Regions from separate parts of the Homo sapiens genome. Here all the other regions are linked to region 1. Evidence: promoter capture Hi-C in human tissues and cell types (Jung and others, 2019). All regions are on one chromosome and are shown on one strand. The core of a region is centred on a gene start or on the middle of the fragment in contact, and the rest is flanking DNA. Distances in the headings are between cores, read along the strand shown.

The links. The method cuts DNA at HindIII sites, captures the fragments that hold promoters and counts their contacts. A contact is called where the count stands out against the background at its distance.
Region 2: a fragment that was not itself captured here is called in contact with the fragment with the promoter of MLANA in region 1 in 3 of the 25 tissues and cell types used here (H1 embryonic stem cells, IMR-90 fibroblasts and mesendoderm cells).
Region 3: a fragment that was not itself captured here is called in contact with the fragment with the promoter of MLANA in region 1 in 2 of the 25 tissues and cell types used here (H1 embryonic stem cells and spleen).
Region 4: a fragment that was not itself captured here is called in contact with the fragment with the promoter of MLANA in region 1 in 1 of the 25 tissues and cell types used here (dorsolateral prefrontal cortex).

Annotation. Positions count from the first base shown.
Region 1 is chr9:5,889,350-5,892,703 of GRCh38, reverse strand. MLANA (melan-A) reads right to left here and starts at 1,815. Exons shown (of 5, transcript NM_005511.2): 1 at 1,768-1,815; 2 at 153-254. The coding sequence starts at 229. It overlaps LOC124902341 (small nucleolar RNA U13), which reads right to left and starts at 2,554; the gene lies at 2,448-2,554. It also overlaps a transcript of BRD10 not described here. The HindIII fragment of the contact is 14,558 bases long and covers 1-3,354 here.
Region 2 is chr9:6,225,927-6,229,299 of GRCh38, reverse strand. The region is part of intron 1 of IL33 (interleukin 33); the gene reads right to left. LOC107987046 (a long non-coding RNA gene) reads left to right here. Exons shown (of 3, transcript XR_001746614.2): 3 at 1,005-1,068. Among named protein-coding and RNA genes, the nearest start is that of IL33, 12 kb to the right of the region's middle. The HindIII fragment of the contact is 3,898 bases long and covers 1-3,373 here.
Region 3 is chr9:6,171,696-6,175,013 of GRCh38, reverse strand. No RefSeq gene overlaps it. Among named protein-coding and RNA genes, the nearest start is that of IL33, 42 kb to the left of the region's middle. The HindIII fragment of the contact is 3,793 bases long and covers 1-3,318 here.
Region 4 is chr9:6,276,983-6,280,372 of GRCh38, reverse strand. All of the region lies in intron 2 of LOC107987046 (a long non-coding RNA gene), which reads left to right. It also overlaps the pseudogene SELENOTP1. Among named protein-coding and RNA genes, the nearest start is that of TPD52L3, 50 kb to the left of the region's middle. The HindIII fragment of the contact is 6,135 bases long and covers 1-3,390 here.

The sequences.
Region 1 (3,354 bases), core at 566-3,065:
ACAGAATCTCCTCCCCTTGTTGCCAGGGATGTTACTGTCTGGGGAGATAAACACTAGGGAGATTTACGAGCAGGCATGTACTGGTGGAAGTCAGCAGGCTGTGTCAGCAAACGGCAAACTGGAAGCCCTGCTGGGTCTGGTTTTGAACTTACTCTTCAGCCGTGGTGTAAGAGTGGCCGTGCCCCTTCTTGGGGTAACCATAGATGAAGTGAGCATCTTCTCTTGGCATCTTGTAGGGTCAGGGCACAGGACACCTAACAGAAGGAGCATGTGGGCATCATTAATGCATCCAAAGCCACCCTATTCATCATCTCATAAAGACCCACAACAGCATCCTCACTAGGTGACCAATATCCATAGCCAGGACCCTTTGGTTTCTCTCTGTGAGGGGATTTGCACCTGCTTCTTTCATTCATATCAAGGGCTTTAGCAATAGCTCAGGTTTCTAACCCCTCCTACTAACTGAAAATTAAGTTCAAAGAAGAAACTACAAACAAAAGCAAAAAAGACTTGCAAGTTGAGTTATTATTTGGTGAAAAAATATTCCTCATTTGCCTTCAATTTGACTCTGCACCATAAACTTCTAGAGAAACAAACAAAATGCATTTTCACTGATTCTCCACCTTCCCTGGCCCAGGGCTGTGGCTAACAAAATTAGAGGAGTTATTTTTCTCCAAAGTTATTGTTGGATATCAATCCCACAGACAAACAGAGGCTATGATACATAACGTGTGTTTCCCAGAGCACCCGTTGCCTGTGCCTCGCGAGGGTGCATGAGGTTGAGCACTGAGCACAACATCTTCCAGCCCAGCTTTTCAGCAAAGGAAACCACCCCACACAGGGGCTTCAGCCTGTCCCCAGGCACTCCACCCAAAACAAGCCGAGGAAGCCCAGGACCTGACTTTATCTAACAATGTGTTTCCCTTCCTACTTAAGTCAATTTCTGCTTCTCTCTGGTTCAAGTCCCTTGGCTAGGATTCTTTTTTTTTCTAACTATAACACATACAAATGAACAACAAAAAATATCCATAAACTGCAGTGGCCGTAATTCAAGTACGCTCATTAAAAACCAATAATGGAAGCTCCTTTCCTTATTATTGTGTATTTTTCTGCTCTCTTACTGTCCTCATGAATTTCAAAGGTGTGATCCCCATAGAATTATATTAATGAGCCCCAGTTTAAAACAACAGGGAGAGGTGAGACAGAAGAGTGGGGATTTCGACACATGACCCCTTTCCACTGGGACATTTTATGTGTAATTTGCCCTTCCCAGTTGTAAAAAAGAAATGAAAGTCAAACTCACCAGTCCTCTCAAGTGAATAATATAGGACTGAACCCTGTGTTCAAAATGACAGAATGGAATCTTAATTCTTCATTAAATTGTTTTAATACATCCCATACCTCAAACTCAGAGCCTTGGCAAATGGTGCAGCAACAGCAAATGCGCCTCTTACTACTCAGACCAGGAGAAGTGGTTCTTTAAGTGACAGGAGAACACATCTACCTCAGGGAGGCTGCTTCTCCCCAGCAAGATGCCATCCTGAATAATTGCTTTTCTTCTTGGTAGTGTTGGAGGACTGAGAGAGGATTCAGGAGGAGGCTTTGTGAGCCCTCTGAGGTTGGAGACTGACAAACGTTGCGGAGAAATTCTGTTGATGTCACACATCAGCGGGGCAATGAGGGTAGGCAGAGGACTTAGCCAGAATTTCCCAAATCCTATTCTGGGAGAAGAGGACTATGATTATGGCGAGAAGGCAACGCTCTTACCTTCCTTAATGAGAGTCCTCTGTCTGCTGGCTGGCCGCGTGTATGAAGACTGCTTCTCTGGCTCTTAATCGTTTTGACTTATTTTTTTTCCTGGTTTTGAGTCCCATGATAGTCACGGGTTTAGATTTCTGACGGGGTCGTCTGTAATTGCTAAATTGGCATGAAAGAAACCAACTTTATTCCTTCCTTCAAAAAGTCACAGCTGACTGTGGCCTCTGTTTTCCCCAGTCCCAGTGCTCTATCCTAGGGAAGCCATTTATTTTAAATGTTGGTCCCTCCTCCATAGGATTGCCATGTCACATAAAATATGACATGAGCCTAGTTATAATGATTTAAAATTCATGGTCCGACACCACAATTACTTTTGCACCAACCTAATTGATGTCTAAGTAGGTCATATTCTACCTGCAAAAAGAAAATTTCATCTATCCCTTTCACATAGATGGAAACCCACTATCTCCAGTGGACAGTTAACACCAAAGGCATCACAGAGAACTCATGGAGCTCAGCTGAGGAGGATGCCCAGTTAAATTTGAACTTCAGATAAACAATGAACAGTTTCTTAATACAACTATGTCCCATACAATATTTTTAGGATAAATATGTCCACATATTCTATGGGACATATACACTAAAAGAGTTATTTTTTGTTTATCTGAAATCCACATTTGTTTTTCTCATGTCAGATAGGTAAGGTGCCCATGTCATTGTAACAAGGTTTGAGGGAGGCATATCTCACACGTGAACATGGAAACCCAATCATCACGCTTATGACCCACAAAAGGATCTGAAATCCAAACTAAACTGGGTTCCCTATTCCCTCCCTCATCTCCATCTCAAAGGGTTGAAGAGTCTTTAGGCACAGGTCTGGAGAGCATCTAGTCCCAGACTCTCATAATCAAGAAAAGGAAATAGAAAAATCCCTGAAACCTCCTCAGCTGAGCTCCATGAGTTCTCTGTGATGCCTTTGGTGTTAACTGTCCACTGGAGATAGTGGGTTTCCATCTATGTGAAAGGGATAGATGAAATTTTCTTTTTGCAGGTAGAATATGACCTACTTAGACATCAATTAGGTTGGTGCAAAAGTAATTGCGGTGTCGGACCATGAATTTTAAATCATTATAACTAGGCTCAAACACATTTTTTTTTTCTGAGATGGAGACTCACTCTGTCGCCCAGGCTGGAGTGCAGTGGCAGGATCTCAGCTCACTACAACCTCTGCCTCCCAGGTTCAAGCAATTCTCCTGCCTCAGCCTCCTGAGTAGCTGGGACTACAGGTGCACGCCACCACACCTGGCAAATTTTTGTATTTTTAGTAGAGACAGGGTTTCACCATGTTGGCCAGGATGGTCTCGATCTCCTGACCTCATGATCCACCTGCCTCAGCCTCCCAAAGTGCTGGGATTACAGGCATGAGCCACCGCGCCCAGCCTCAAACACATCTTTATTAATCAAAATAGGAACCATTGCAATGAAGACATTTTTGCCAATGAAAAATAAGTTTGTTTATTCCTGTAGCATACACATTCATGCTTCAAGATTCGATGAACTCTTGGAAAGCATTTTCTGCATCCTGCTGGTTGTGGA
Region 2 (3,373 bases), core at 260-2,759, 340 kb before region 1:
TCTTTGAAGAAGCAAAGGTAGATTGGCATCCCCTTCCCAAGCTTAGACCTAGGATTTTCTCCTTTCCCTCAAGTCCCTACAGCTCTCCAGGTCTCAGTTTCCTTGTCTTCAAAACAAGGAGGGTATGTGAAAGCCAGCATTTTCCTCCTTGACTCTTTCCTGTGCTCCTGTACAGGTTCCTCATTTAGCTCATTTATTTCCTTCTCCCAGGGCCCCTTCTATACTGGCAGCTGCACTAGCCCCTTATTCACACAAAGGGTACCATCCTCAGAAAACACACAAATTCTGCCTCAGCCTTGTGATCTCCTCTTCTCCTTTCTACTAACCTTACAGCAGGACAAAATTACAGTGAAAAGAAAAGTCCACAGAGTCTGCAGCATTTTTTGGTTTTTTGTTTTTACTTGTTTTTTTCTTTAGTACCCAAATATCTGAAAGCTGATTTTTTTTTTTTTTGAGTCAGTGTTTTGCTCTGTCACCTAGGCTGGAGGGCAGTGGCATGATCATTGCCTCACTGAACTCCTAGGTTCAAGGGATCTTCCTGCCTCAGTCTTCAAGTAGCTAGGAATACAGGTGTGTGCCACCACACTCGGCTAAATTTTTATTTTTGTAGAGACAGGGTCTCGCTTTGTTGCCCAGGCTGGTCTCGAACTCCTGGCCTCAAGTGATCCTTCCACCTTGGCTTCCCAGAGCACTGGGATTACAGGTGTGAGCCACCATGCCTGGCTGTTGTTTAATGGATTCAGAAAGTTCTCACTGCTAGAAGAAAGCAATGTATGGAAAAAAAAAAACAACATGGAACATAGAGACCTTTGGTTTTAGTTTAACTCTAAAGTTGAGATCATTTTCTTCTTTTACTTTTTAAATGCATTTTACATAAAATTGGACAAGTAATGTAAAAATTCTGAATCTTGTAAAAATTCAAAGGAGTATGAAATACTTAGCAAAAGCATGTAGAGTTAAATAAAAATTCTCCTTTTTTTGTTTTTGTTTTTTATTTGAGACAGAGTCTTGGTCTGTAACCAGGACTGAAGTGCACAGCTGATTGCAACCTTGAACTCCTGGCCTCAAGTGATCCTCCTGCCTTGGTCACCCAAAGTGCTTGGATTAGAGGTATGAGCCACCATGCCTAGCTCTCCTGTATTTTTTACAATTAGCCCTTATATAGTGTTTACTATGTGCCAAGAACTGTACTAAGTGCTTCACATATTTAACTTATTCAATTATTACAGCAATCTTGTTAGGGTAGCATTATTATTATCCCTCTTTTATATATGAGGAAACTGAGGTACAGAGGGATCAAGTAAATGCCCAAGGCCTCATAGCTGAAACCCTAAGCGAACATTTTCAGAGTTCATGAGGTACTTCAGGAAAGGGGTGGAGGAATCCAAATCCGTTGCATTCCAGATCTTCCTCCCTAGCCCCTGCATCCAGAGCAGAAAACCCCTACCTAGAAAGTTTTCTAGGTAGAAGAGGTTTTACTGGTAAGAAAACAAAATTAAAAGTTTGAAAATATGTCATTAGGCCCATTCCACCTGAATTATTTGACCTTGTAAGGAGGGTGATAGACTGAGGCTCAGTTCATATACCATCAGTGGTAGTCAAGCTAGAGAAGATTTAGTAGCATTATAAGGAGAAAGCATTACACTTAATGGTTGGAAGAAGTTTTCAAAACTTTGTAAAGAGTAGAATCCTTTTCTGAAAAAAGAATATTGCATGGAAGCCTAATAGATAACAGAAGACAAAATCATTAACTTATTAATATAAATATGCTTCATAAGTTTACATTTATATTTACTCATTATAAAGTTATTTAATGAAATATGCTGTTTCCAGCATAATAATGGGTTAGTTACCATGAACAGCCCTCCTGATAAAAACAACCAAAATGCTGCAAGATGTATTTTTAAATATCTTTTCAAACAACATTGAGGGGGCATGAATGGGAGGCTAGCAAACTTGGCTTTTTTCTAAAGTTGTCTACTATATCCTAGAGACAAAGAGGAAGAATTACATAAAGAATCAGGACCAGGAGATAAAGCTTAGGATATGTCTAAGATGGAGAGTCTAACAGTAAACTGCTGCATAAACCTGGACTCTCAAAGGGCTACATTCACAATAGAAGGGTGATCAAGATAAATAAACTCGGCAGAAGGGAATACCCAGAAACCTTGTCTGTCTCAACTCCAGCCCTTGCTGGAAGGAAACACATATCTCTAAGAATTTACCTTCTCAGGACAAGTCAGCCCCTACATGGCTTTGTAGTCTGAAATCAAACTACTTGTGTGCTTCCAAAAGCCTGAAATAGAAAATTAAGTATAAAGTAGTTTTAGGTTGGCAGTGCCCCAAGGCAAATACAAGTCTTATCTTGAAGAACTCAGCTGCTACACAAACCACCAAACATTCCCACAGAAAAGTCTTCAGGACAAATGAGTAGTCTGCAGTCAAAATTTGCAAAGCAAACGAGAATACCAGACACCATGGTGAGAACCCACAAAAGGAACAGGTAGCAGAAAGCCACAAAGCCTTTGTGTATTAGAACAAGCAGAAATAACTGATTTTAATATTGTTAGATAGTATTCTAAAAGATTGAAAATATGAACAGTGAACATGTATATTTGAAAAAGATCCAAATAGAATATCTAGACATAAAAGATATATTACTGAAATTAAAACTCAATGGTTCAATTAAACAGAAGATTAAACACAAGTGAAAAGAGTCAGTGACCTAGAGAACATATCTGAAGTATTCCTTAGAATACAATCCAGAGATACTTGGAGGTGGAAAATATGAAAAGAGGGTAAAAGACTTGGAAGAAAAATGAGACTGTTTTATAACTATTTGGAATGGTAGAAGGAGATGCTAGAACAGAGATGGAACAACATTTAAAGAAATAATGGCTGACAACATTCCAGAATTGTTGAAAGATCCTAATCCTTAGATCCAAGAGTTTCAATGAATTTCAAGCAGATAGAAAGAAAGAAAGGGCTGGGGGTGGTGGCTCAAGCCTTATAGTCCCAGCACTTTTGGAAGCTGAGGTGGGATGATCTCTTGAGACCAGGAGTTTTAAGACTAGCCTGGGCAACATAGCGAGGCCCCATCTCTTAAAAAAAAATAATTAAAAAAATTAGCTGGGTGTGGTGGCACACACCTGTAGTCCCAGCTGGTGGGGAGGCTGAGGTGGGAGGATTGCTTGAGCCCAGGAGTTTGAGGCCGCAGTGAGTTAGGATTATGTCACTGCACTCTAGCCTGGGTTACAGAGCAAGAGCTTGTCTCTAAAAAGAGAGAGAGAGAAGAAAAATCCACATCTTCATATATTAGTTATGAAATTGCAGAATATTAAAGAAAAAAAGTGAGATCAGCCAGGGCATCATA
Region 3 (3,318 bases), core at 570-3,069, 280 kb before region 1:
ACAAGTTACTTAAAACTGATTCCAACTTAGCTTTGATCACAAAAAAACAAAAAGAAACAAACTAACAAAATAAAACCTTATACATATTAATTCCCCTCTCCTCACACATTTTGAATTTTTGATACTGCAATTTACATTTTTATATTGCTAATCTCTTAATAAATTGTTGTAGTTATTGTTTTTAGTAGTTTTATCTTTTAGTCTTCTTAGTAAAGATTTAATTGATTTACACACCACAATTACAATATTAGTGTAACAATCACATTGGTATCCTTTTCTTTTGGCCTAAAGAACTCTCGTTAGCATTTCTTGTAGGACAGGTCTGGTAGCAACAAATTCCCTCAGCTTTTGTTTGTCTAGGAAAGCCTTTATCTCTCCTTCGTTTCTGAAGAATAGCTTTACTGGAAACAGTATTCTTGCTTTGCAGTTTACTTCTTTCAGCACTCTGAATATATCATCTCACCTCTCCTGGCCTGTACAGTTTCTACTGAGAAGTCTGCTGCCAGGCATTTCAGATCTACCTTATCTGTTATTTGCTTCTTTTTTCTCATTGCTTTCATAATCGCTTCTTTGTCTTTGATCTTTGAGAGTTTGATTGTAATACCTAAGGGTATTCTTATATGGGTTGAAAGTGATTGGTGACCCTTGACCTTCCTGTACCTGGATATTTATATCTTTCTCCAGGTTTGGAAGGTTTATGTTATTATTTCTTTGAAAAAGCTTTCTACCTTCTTGTCTTTCTCATTTCCCTCTTTAACTAAGTAACATGAATGATTGCTCTTTTATTGTTGTCCTGTCATTCCTGTAAGCTTTCTTTATACTTTTCATTCTTTTTTCTCCTCTGACTGTATATTTTCAAATATTCTGTTTTCAAGCTCACTGATTGTTCAGCTTGATCAGTTCTGCTGATCTATTGCATTTTTCCTTTCATTCATTGTATTTTTCAGCTCCAGGATTTCTGGGTTTTTTTTTTTTTAATTATTTTAATCTCTGTTAAATTTCTCTGATACATTTCTGAATTGATTATGTGTATTTTGTAGAAGTCAATCAAGCTTCTTAAAACAGCTATTTTGTATTATTTGTCTAAGAAAGTGCATATCTCTATCCCTTTAGGGTCAGCCTCTGGCACCTTAGTTTTTCCATATGAAGAGTCATATTTCCGTGTGTGTTTTTAATGCTGTGAACATGAAATGATGTCTGCGTATTGATAGGTTAAGTATTTATTTAATATTTTAGTCTTTGTAGTCTAGCTTTCTTTGTGCTTATCCTTGTAGGGATTCTATACAGTCTGACTATTGTTTTCTCTGAGCCTCTGACCTCTGCAGCCATCTCAGCAGTAGAAGATGCTCTAAGTACAGGCTTGCTGCAAGTCTCATGAGGACTATGAGATTGGCACAGCTTTCCAGCCCAGAAGGATCAGGGGAAGACTCAAGGAGGGTACTTGGGCTGTGTGGGAATGCTGGACAGGGACCTGAATCCAGAAGACTGTCCTGGTGGCCAAGATGGATGGCTATCCCCAGTTGGGGACCCATCCCACCTGTGCATGCCTCTCAGCAGGTTTCTGCACATGTGGGATGGGTCCCCACCTGCAGCAAGGGAGGCTGGAGTTGAAATTGGTCCCTCTCAGGATCTGTTATGGGAAGGAAGCTGATGGGCCTATTTTGTTGGCTCAGACAGATATATGTCACCCAGCAGTACCCTGCACAAGCAGGGTAGTTCTTCGACTGCAGCAGGAAAGACCAAAGCTGAGGCTGGACCTCCAAGGGACCTGCTGTGAGACAGACACTGGCATGCTTATCCCAGTGGTTTATATGGGTACGCATCTTCTAGTAGGTCTCTGGATAGATGGGATAGTTCTGTGCAGCAGGGGGAGTCAGAGCGGTTACTAGGGCCCCTCAGGATCTGCTGTGGGACAAGCTGAAGAGCCCTTCTCATTGGCTTAAACAGGTATACATCTCCAAGCAGGTATCAGCATAGATGGGATAGTTCCCCAACTGCAGCAGGATGGAGTGTTGCTGAGATGGGGCCCCCTTGACATCTGCTGTGGGGCAGAACCTGGAGAGCCCTGTCTCATTGGCTCAGAGAGACACATTCTCCCAGCAAGTTTCTGTAAAGATGGAATAGTTCCTTGGTTGCAGTGTGAGAGGCCAGAGCTGAGACTGGGCCTCCTTGGTATCTGTTGTGGAACAGAGGTTTACAAGCTCTAGCCTGTCTGAGAGGCTCAGACTACTGGGCTGCAAGTTATGGGCAAGTCTCCCTCTGGATCCTTATGTAAGCAGCTCTGAGCTGGGACCTCACCTGAGGGGGCTGGAGCAGAACCAGAGAGCAACGTTCAGATTGACTGCCAACACGACTGTCAGTGGGTAGATGAGCCTTTCTATTAGTGTGCACAATTCCTTCTTGACTCCTCGGCAGATGGCTTTGGTTGCAGGATCAAGGCCAAGTGGGGTTGTATCCAAACCCCTTGGGAGACTGGGTCATTTTCTGGCTTGAACCCAGGAACAAGCTTGGTGGATCAGCCACCTATGTGTAGGTCTTCCCTCTGCAAATGATCCTCTGATGTCTTGGACTTCACTAGGGTTTCACAAACTCCTACCTCAATCCTGAGGCTCCTGCAGAGTGACTTTTTACCATGGATGGATGCAGAATTCTTATAGGGAGATATGAGCGGGTTACCTTCTATTCTGCCCTCTTGTCACTTCATTTTTATATGATATATTTCTGATTTTATTGGATGAGGATCAGAGTTTGTGGTTTTAAAAATCTTTACTGTTTTATATTTTAATGTTTTTTGCAGCAAATACAATTTTTGTACAAATCATGGTCATATAAAATATATATTGTCAATTCTAAGGATATATGCATTTATTATATCAAGTTTTGTTTGTGTTATTGTGAAAATAAGTAATTCAAAGTCAAAGCTGTTGGAACTCTAAATTATTGTGAGCCTTAAAAAATGTGAATTATGAGGCTTGAGTCACATCACAGGCTGCTGTAACCTAGGCAGCTAGAACCTTTTTTCCTCTAGTTATGGGTGAAAGCTTTTCCCTTACCTGCATTGTTTTGTAAAATGTTGTAAATGGCTGAAGGATGCCAGGGAAGACCCTCTTTCCTCTACACTATCGACTTTCATTAAAAATTAACCTCCCTCTTTCCTTTCTCACACAAAGAATTCATGGTTATCACATTGCCTTAAGATGGAATGTTAAATACACTCTTTTAAATTTGAAAGGAAATGAAAACCAGCTGTAAAGAAAAGAAAACAAGCCACACAGAAAAGAAAACAAACTGTAACTAATTAATTTGTTGTTAGAATGC
Region 4 (3,390 bases), core at 486-2,985, 390 kb before region 1:
GCTCTACCACTTCTATCCCTATATGGAAGCTGAAGTATGTTATTACTGCTGTTACATGACTATTTTTCTACATTGTGGTTCTATTTCTGCTAAATTATTCTTACAGTCTTTATCAATTTAAGTTTTTTAAAAAACTGCCTTTTTAGAACTCTGAAACAGTATTTAAAAATTAAATTAAAAAAATTTTAAGTTTTGTTCATCATATACAATACAATTCTGATATATGATGTTAGACAAATTATTAGCCAGGTAATTTCTGTTCACCTAGTATCAATGCTATAAAGAGCTTCAAGTGAACTTTCTTTAGTGAGATGAGTTTCAATGATCCTAAAGATGGTAAATGAACCATTATTTGTGTGTCTAAAGTGTGTACTCTTAAGAAATTATCCATAAATCAAAAACAAAAATTTAAGCAATTGTTAAATATAATGTTAACAGGAACATTGAGCAATAAATTGAAACTTTTAAATTTAACTCATATCTGCTTAGTTTTTTATTTAGTTAAGTATAAAGGCCCAGTTAATTAATCAATTCATTAGATTGGTCAAGGCATGACACTTGAACTACACAATAGGATTTAAAAAGCAGTTGGTTTTTTTAGTAGTTCTCTGGTAATCACACGCACATACACACATACACAAAAATTTGTAGAGTACTCTGAATATAGGATTTCCCCCATAATCTTGCATCTGCTGTATTTTGTAAACTATATAAACTGGACATGGCCAAATTAGAGATGTCTGATAAACTCTTATAAAGTATTTGGGAACTTCAACTGGATTCCCAAAGGATGAATTTTAAACTATAAAAAACAAATATTCATATAAAAGCACAACAGATTTAACAGACATCTTTGGAAAAAAAATCAAATTGTAACTCAATTTTCTACTTTTTCAAATACGACTAAGGAAAAAAGTTACAAGTAGTAATGTCTACCTTAAAAAAAAACACACATTAACTGGGTGATTGTGTGGGGGGTGGGGAAAGCTATACAGTATTATTGCACTCCATGAATGTGAAGAATTCCAAAATATGCCAGCACGGAAAAGCTATCTTGCATTGAGGTTTTCCAAGAGGTACAACGAGCATGCTAAGAAAGCATTTGGTCTGTACTAACAGCTTGCTCTCTTCAGTACAGGCCTTCATAATGTCAGTCAAGCTGCTCTTGGAATGATCCCTTAATGCAAAAGAGTTTTCAGTGCTGATAGGTGGTGCTATGATCGATGGTGTGGGATTGAATCCATATGCACATTGAGCTTCATTTCATTGTCAAGAATTTGAACAAGCTGTTGCATGGATGGAAGGTGACCGGATTCCAGCTTAGACCACACAGGTACATCATTTAAAGTTATCTCAAATGCACCTGTTGACATACACTGGTTCTCAATCATGTTGCTCAAGAAGAAAACCATCATACATGCATAGACCTTATTTTCTTGGCCCCACTGCCAGATGCTAGGAGCTTGCATGCCAAAGAAAGCAAAAGGATCCTTGCCAACAATTATTAAGCCTATTAATACTAGTTTGAAGACTGACAGGAAAGATGCTATGTGTCTATACATTGGTTGAGGGAGGTAATTCTCTCCTTCAATACGGATGTCTGGGTACCCCTGGCTAGTAACCCACATGTACTCCTCAAACACCCGCCTATAACCTCAGGAAACACAAATCTGGAACTTGAGCAGTGGCCCCGTGGCGTACTGCATCTTTAATCTCGCTGGGCACGCCACCCAGATTGGCCGAGGCCTCGCTCCGGACCATCACAGACACCGCCACTCTCTATGTTTTTTTCAGGGTAACTGTGAAACAGCCTCAGGCAGATTTTTCCAGGTATTCCAGAAAAAGACCTCATTATCATAGAAGGTGACAGTTCTATGTGTGTTATTGCCCCTGAAGAAATTCCAGTGGGACAAGATGTGGAGGTGGAAGACAGTAATATTGGCGATCCTGACTCTGTGTAGGCCTAGGCTAAGGTGTGTGTGTCTTAGTTTTTAACAAAAAAGTTTAAAAAGTAAAAAAAAGAATTAAAAAATTTAAAAAATAGAAAAAAGCTTATAGATAAGGATATAAATAAAATACTTTTATACAGTTGTACAATGTTTGTGTATGTAAAAAGTTATGTACATAATTGCATGTGCTATAGTTTTATATGCCTGGCAGTGCAGTAGGTTTGTTTACACCAGGATCATCACAAACATGAGGAATGTGTTGTGCTAGGATGTTATGATGATTATGTCATAAGTAGGTAATAGGAATTTTTCAGCTCCATTATAATCTTATGTGATACAGTGGTATATATGGTCCATCACTGACTGAAATGTCATTGTGTGGTGCATGACTGTAGTTGGGATCAGAGTATGTAGCCTTTCAGACTAGCTTCTTTCACTTAGTAAGTTAGGGATCCTCCATATTTTTTTGTGACTTAATAGCTCATTCCTTTTATTGCTGAATAGTATTTCACTGTCTGGATTGCCCATTCATCTATTGAAGGGCATTTTGGTTGCTTTTAATTTGGGGCCATTATGAATAAAGCTGCTATAAATGTCCATGTGTAGGTTTTTATGTGGATTTAATTTTTTAACTCAAGTATTTGACTAGAATTTAACTAAGTGTTTGAGTAATTATTTAGGAGCGAAACTGCTGGGTTATATGGTAAGACTATATTTAGTTTTGTAAGAAACTGCCAAATTGTCTTCCAAAGTGGCTGTATCATTTTGCTCCCACCCCCAATGAATGAGAATTCCTGTTGCGCAACATCCTTGCCAGCATTTGATATTATTAGTGTTTTGGATTTTGGCCATTTGAATAGGTGTGTAGTTGCATCTTATTTTAATCATGTTTTCTTTTTAACCATTATATTCTACCACCTCTCACTATAAGCAGCAGTTTGTTTTCCTGTTATTCTAGGCAAACCAAATTCCAGTCCCACTGCGGAATTTAGCATTGTACCAGACTTCAAATTGGTTAATAACAAACAAACAAAAAGACCCTATAAAAACCATTGCACTTTCAGTTCTCTCTAAAAATGTCAAAAGGTTTCACTCACAGGCTAGTACGTGAATTCCACACTGCATGGCATCAGGCCGACTGCCATTCTACTTTAGTTTTTAGTCAGGTTTATTGAGGGATAGTTTTAATACAGTAAAACTCATCATTTTAAAGTATATAGTTTGATGAGTTTTAGCAGTATACGGATGTATAACCACCACCACAATCAAGATATAGGACATTTCCATCACTGCAAAAGGTTGTCCTTTTGTAATCCATCCCTGCCCTAGGCAACCACTACTGTCTAATATAGTGTTTGGCTTTTTAGAATGCTATATAAATAGAATCATAGAGTGTGTACTCTTTTTAAATAATTTTGTTTCATACTAGTTTTTCTAGGGG